Linked DNA regions of Homo sapiens: region 1 is linked to region 2. Evidence: promoter capture Hi-C in human tissues and cell types (Jung and others, 2019). All regions are on one chromosome and are shown on one strand. The core of a region is centred on a gene start or on the middle of the fragment in contact, and the rest is flanking DNA. Distances in the headings are between cores, read along the strand shown. Region 1 overlaps SPATA45 (spermatogenesis associated 45). Region 2 holds the start of BATF3 (basic leucine zipper ATF-like transcription factor 3).

Region 1 (3,004 bases), core at 184-2,683, 130 kb before region 2:
TGGGTAGAGAGCCAGATAAACAAGTTAAAAAATAGTACATTTCAGCCGGGCACAGTGGCTCACGCCTGTAATCCCAGCATTTTGGGAGGCCGAGGCGAGTGGATCACCTGAGGTCAGGAGTTCGAGACCAGCCTGACCAACATGGTGAAACCCCACAAAAATTAGCTGGGCATGGTGGTGCATGCCTGTAATCCTAGCTACTCTGGAGGCTGAGGCAGAAGAATCACTGGAATCCGGGAGGAGGAGGTTGCAGTGAGCAGAGATCGCGCCACTGCACTACAGCCTGGGCAACAAGAGCGAAACTCCGTCTCAAAAAAAAAAAAAAAAAAAAGGAAGTAAATGTCCGATCAGATAGTGATAAATGGGTAAGAGCTATGGGGAAACAGAAAACAGCAGGGTGGGGGATAGGAAGTGTTGGATGGAGGGTGTATTGCTGCCCATATAACTATATGGGGATTACTATCCAGGGCATGAGGGATGACCCAGGACTCCTGGGTTCCTTGAGGAGTCCAGTGTAAACAGGGATAAGGGACAGAATGAGATTAGTCCTGATGGTCGAACCTAGCGGTGGTCTAACCTGGTGGGGAGGCCTGTGTGTTGAGGGGAAGTAATGTTACAGATTTTGCATAGAGTATTTGGAGTTCTGGGTGATCCTCTTTGCTTCTATTAATAGTGACGTGAAGACTAGGAAAGAAGTTCTCTTAGTCCGAGATTTCCAGGCCCTCTTTTCAATCTTCCACTTGGAGATGTGGAGCCCAAAAGGGGGGCAGTTTATTTAAATATATAGAATTAAAAACACCTGGGTTCAAGTTTTGCCTCTGTCATTGACTAGTATCATGCTTTTAGTAATTTGAGGTTTTTTTTTTTTTTTTTAGAGGCAGAGTCTTGCTCTGTCACTGGGGCTGGAGCGCAGTGGTGTGATCATAGCTCACTGTATCCTCAACCTCCTGGGCTCGAGCGATCCTCCTACCTCTCAGCCTCCCGAGTAGCTGGGACTATAGGCATGTGCCACCATGCTTGGCTAACTTTTGTATTTTTTTAATAGAGTCTGGATTTTGCCATGTTGCCCAGGTTGGTCTCAAATTCTTGACCTCAAGCAATCTGCCTGCCTCAGCCTCCCAAAGCGCTGGGATTACAGGCGTGAGCCACCGTGCCCAACCATTTGGTGTTTCTTTCTTTCTTTTTTTTTTTTTAATTTATTGAGACGGAGTCTCACTCTGTCACTTTGTCACAGGCTGTAGTGCAGTGGCTCGATCTTGGCTCACTGCAACCTCTGCTGCCCGGGGTTCAAGCGATTCTCCTGCCTCAGCCTCCAGAGTAGCTGGGATTACAGGTGTGCACCACCACACCCAGCTAATTTTTTTTGAGATTTTTTCTTGCTCTGTCACCAGGCTGGAATGCAGTGTTGCGATCTCGGCTCACTGCAACCTCCACCTCCCGGGTTCAACTGATTTCTCCTGCCTCAGCCTCCTGAGTAGCTAGGACTACAGGCGCATCCCACCACACCCAGCTAATTTTTGTCTTTTTAGTAGAGATGGGGGTTTCAACATGTTGGCCAGGATGGTCTCCATCTCTTGACCTCGTGATCCGCCCACCTCAGTCTCTCAAAGTGCTGGGATTACAGGCGTGAGCCACAGCGCCTGGCCGCCATTTGGTGTTTCTTTTTTTTTTTTTGGAGTCGGAGTCTTGCTCTTTCGCCCAGGCTGGAGTGCAGTGGTGTGATCTCGGCTCACTGCACGTTCCGCCTCCTGGGTTCAACCGATTCTCTTGTCTCAGCCTCCTGAGTAGCTGGGACTACAGGAGCGCGCCACGACGCCCGGCTAATTTTTGTATTTTTTTAGTAGAGATGGGGTTTCACCATCTTGGCCAGGATGGTCTCGATCTCCTGACCTCGTGATCCGCCCACCTCGGCTTCCCAAAGTGCTGGGATTACAGGTGTGAGCCACCGCACCCGGCCCATTTGGTGTTTCTAAACCTTAGTTCCTGTATCTGAAAAACAATACTCTGCCCTCCAGGGTTATTTTAAAAACCATGAAATGTGTTATAAGTTATATAACAAATACTTTTTATTTTTTATTTTTTCAGATAATGCCATATTTGGATAAAGTGCATCTCCAGAGACACACGGAAATACATTCTCTTTGATTCTTCTTCAGTGTGTCTAAATTATTTACAAATTATTAATTATAAACAAAGCTAAACAAAAGTATTCACTAGATCCCTCAAAAAACATTAAGTCACATAAAACATATCTTTATTCATTCCATTCTATCATTTAAACTTAGATGATTTGAAGAGAGGATTTGAGTTTTTTAGTTACTTTCAAACATGAATACCTAAGAGTTTAGTTTACAGTGATCCCTTTTTTTTTTTTTTTTTTTTGAGACAGAATCTTGCTCTGTTCCCCGGGCTGGAATGCAGTGGCATGATCTCAGCTCACTGCAATCTCCACCTCCTGGGTTTAAGCTATTCTCCTGTCTCAGCCTCCTGAGAAGCTGGGACTACAGGCGCACGCCACCACACCCAGCTAATTTTTGTATTTTTAGTAGAGATGACATTTCACCATGTTGGTCAGGCTGGTCTTGAACTCCTGACCTCAGGTGATCCACTCGCCTTGGCATCCCAGAGTGCTGGGATTACAGGTGTGAGCCACCATGCCCAGGCAATCTTCTCCTTAGTAATCTAAAATGTTTAAATAATAGTTTATATTTGTTTCTATAACTCAATGGAATATATTGACCAACCCCACTGATCAGGTTGAAGGCTAAAAAGTTAACACTTGCTTATAAATGATAGATTAACTTCCTCTGTTAAAGTTATGGTTTTGATTATTTGAATAAGGAGATATTTGAGAGGCTAATATAAGGTGCCTGTAGACAGGGCTTTCTGTTACATTACGTTGTCCATCCCCACAGTGGTGATGGTTAGAATTATCTCATGGCCACATCCTATTTGGCTACTATCACCTCCGTTTCATTGCTTCTTGGATCACAGTCTCTTCAAA
Region 2 (2,895 bases), core at 309-2,808:
CTATGCTAGGCACCTTGTGTGGGTACCTTGTGGGATGCAAAATAGTCCTGGGGCAACCACCAGTTAAGCTGAGTGATGAAATAACGGAGAGGAAAAGATTAATCCGGGCAGATAACCCAGCGTAGCGCTGGCTCTGCTGCGCAGCCTTGCTGCTGTGGAGTGTGGCGCTGCAACTCTAAAGGGCTGCGTCCACCCTCCGTCTTCCTCCCCGCCTCTCAGTTGGCCGAAGCTTCTGATCACACAGACAAGAATCTCCGCTCGCTTTCCCGCTGGCCTCCAGGCAGCCAAGTTCACTCAAGCTCTCTCAAAGCTTTTGCAAGAGTGGGTCTTAAATCCTGGCGGGGGGCACGTGCACTCATTTAAGACTTAAAAAGGAATCGGAAATGACTGTCCCCATGCCCACTGCTGCCCACAAACCTGAAGACCCAAGCGACCACACTTGGTAGGCACTTCTGCCCTTCTGGTCTGGTTCCCACCCGCCCATCCCGAATCGCGGTTATCTTTCCCGGTGCTCACAGCATGCAGACCACAGCCTGTGGCCGCTAGTGTTTCCTTCGCTAGGACCACGGGTAATTGTCTTGGCTTCGCATCTTTTGACTGGCAGGCAGGTGGACAGGGACTTGCCCTACCTCAACCCGGTCCCCAGCTTGGCACGAGCAGATAAATCTTGAAAAAGAAAAATGATCTGGGCCGTTTAACCGTGGCATGGCGGGTCCAGATCCCCAAACCTGTCACTAGTGACGTCCCACGTGGCAGATTCGCTCTCAGGGAAGCCCGTCACCGTTTTTGTCCGGGACATCCTCCCCATGCCCACCCTCCGCTCCGGGAATTCACCCTCGGGGCCGCCCCGCCTCGTTCCCTCCCACAGCCCGGCGGACCCGAGACGGGAAGGGCAGGCACTCCCTGCAGAGTCCCTGGGGCGCCCGTGGCTCGGGGTGCGCGGTGGGACTCGGTGAAGCCGGCGTCTTCACCCCAGAGCCGCGGCTTCGGGGCCGCTGGAGGAGCGAGAGTGGCGCCCGGATGACTGATCGCCGCGGAGAAAGTCCCCCGGGACTGTGACCCCCGCGCCGGGGGGCGGACGCAGGGCGTGGCTGAGGCGCAGGAAGATGCCGCGATGGGACCGGGAAAAAACACCGACCCCAAAACACCCACTGTGTTTCTCAACCTGAGTTCCCCGGCAGCCGCCGAAGGACCCCAAAGGCTGCATGGCGCCCCCCTGGTCCCCACCCCCCCGGGCGTCGCCTCGCGTGGGTGGGCTTCGCGTTCCCTCCGGGGTTTCAGAGCCACCACGTGACTTCCACGAAGCGCGGGGCGCCGGCGGAAAGCCGCGGCAGGGGTGGGATTTGGGACCCCGAGGTGCGGAGAGAGGGCGGGCAGAGGAGGAAACGAGGCGGGGGTGGGAGAAGGAGGGCGGGGCAGACGTGGGACGGGAAGGACGGCTGCCGGGACTGGCGCGCGGGGACACTGGGCCGACGCGTGGAGTAGCGGGGAGAGCGGGAAGCCTGAGGGGGCGGGGCCGGCGCGAGGCCGTGGGTGCGGCACGAGGATGCCGGCGGCGGGACAGCGCCCGTAGGCAGCCCCACGGGCAGGGCGCGCGGGCGGGGCGGGGCGGGCCGGGCCAGAGGAGCGCCCGGCATGTCGCAAGGGCTCCCGGCCGCCGGCAGCGTCCTGCAGAGGAGCGTCGCGGCGCCCGGGAACCAGCCGCAGCCGCAGCCGCAGCAGCAGGTAGAGGGCGAGAGGCTCAGGGAGGGCCGTGGGGTGCGGGGACCGGCGCGCCGCGGGGGGCGAGGAGGTGGGTGCTGGAGTTCCGTGGTGGTGACTGCGGAGGTGCAGAGGTGGCGGGTGCGGCCGGAGACAAGCAGAGGTAGGGGCGTAGGGATGTTGGGGAATGGGGGCGATCCAGGGACCCTGTCGTGCGCACAGTGTCCGCGGCTCCTGGAATGGCTCCTGAGCCAGCTCCTGCGCCCTCTGGGGGAAGAAGCCCGAGGGCGCCGACGCCTGGCTGGGCCGGGCATGGCCGGTGCTCCCCGGCACGTGGGCTCCGCACTGCCCTGAGGGCCGCCCCATCCTGGCGCAGCCAGCGACTGCCACCCCACCACCCGCGCCTGTAGCCCCTCCAGGATTCCCCCGGGTGGGGGGGGTGCTGCCGCGGGAATGGAGAACGCCGGACTAGTCAGCCTGGGCGGAGGGAACCCACAAAGGGCCGACTCCGCCCCCAGCTGGTGGAAACCCTTTGCCCCTTCCCAGTTCGCTGTCCCCTAGCAACGTTTACAGCGGCGCAGTCAGGAAGGAGACCAGGTTGGCCACAGGGACGGCCGTCTGGAAACTTTGCCTGGGTCTTGGCCACCTGCCTTACGACGAAGACTGGGTCTTTTCATCCTTACTCCCCACCTTCCCAATTCAGCGCCCGGCCCATGTCATCAGGTGTCGCTGGAGTGTCACAGAGATCTGAGTTTGGGCCTGGGCTTTGCCACACACAGGCTGAGCAGCCTTGAGCAATTTGTTTAACCTCTCGGACCGTCCATTTCCCCATCTGTAAAATGAATATAGTAACATCAACCTCTCAGGATTTTTGAGACTGAATCAGATATGGTTAATAACATAATACTATCTCTAACTTTCGCTCACCTCTTTCTGTCTTGATTAAATGTTTCTGCTGGGTTGGCAGGTGTGATCATGGTGATGAGTCCAGTTTAGAGTCAGCTCCCCGAGGGCAGTATGCAGGCTGCTTTCTTGTGCTAGTGACTTTTTGATTACAGAGAGCAAAGAGGCATGAGAAGCACTATGCAGAATACATTTTTTTTTAAAGTAGCAACTTCAACAAAGGCAGGTAACTTCTTGAGGGCATACTGTATGCTGGGAGCTTTAGGACAAAATCTCATTTCATCGCATCCC

What was found. Contacts are between HindIII fragments. The study calls those that stand out against the background at their distance.
Region 1: a contact is called between a fragment that was not itself captured here and the fragment with the promoter of BATF3 in region 2, in 1 of the 25 tissues and cell types used here (pancreas).

What each region holds. Positions count from the first base shown.
Region 1 is chr1:212,829,343-212,832,346 of GRCh38, reverse strand. SPATA45 (spermatogenesis associated 45) reads left to right here. Exons shown (of 3, transcript NM_001024601.3): 3 at 2,086-2,206. The coding sequence ends at 2,105. Among named protein-coding and RNA genes, the nearest start is that of SPATA45, 17 kb to the left of the region's middle. The HindIII fragment of the contact is 3,043 bases long and covers 1-2,954 here.
Region 2 is chr1:212,698,503-212,701,397 of GRCh38, reverse strand. It overlaps BATF3 (basic leucine zipper ATF-like transcription factor 3), which reads left to right and starts at 1,558. Exons shown (of 3, transcript NM_018664.3): 1 at 1,558-1,725. The coding sequence starts at 1,636. RefSeq lists silencers at 1,541-1,620, 1,811-2,260. The HindIII fragment of the contact is 5,625 bases long and covers 1-2,895 here.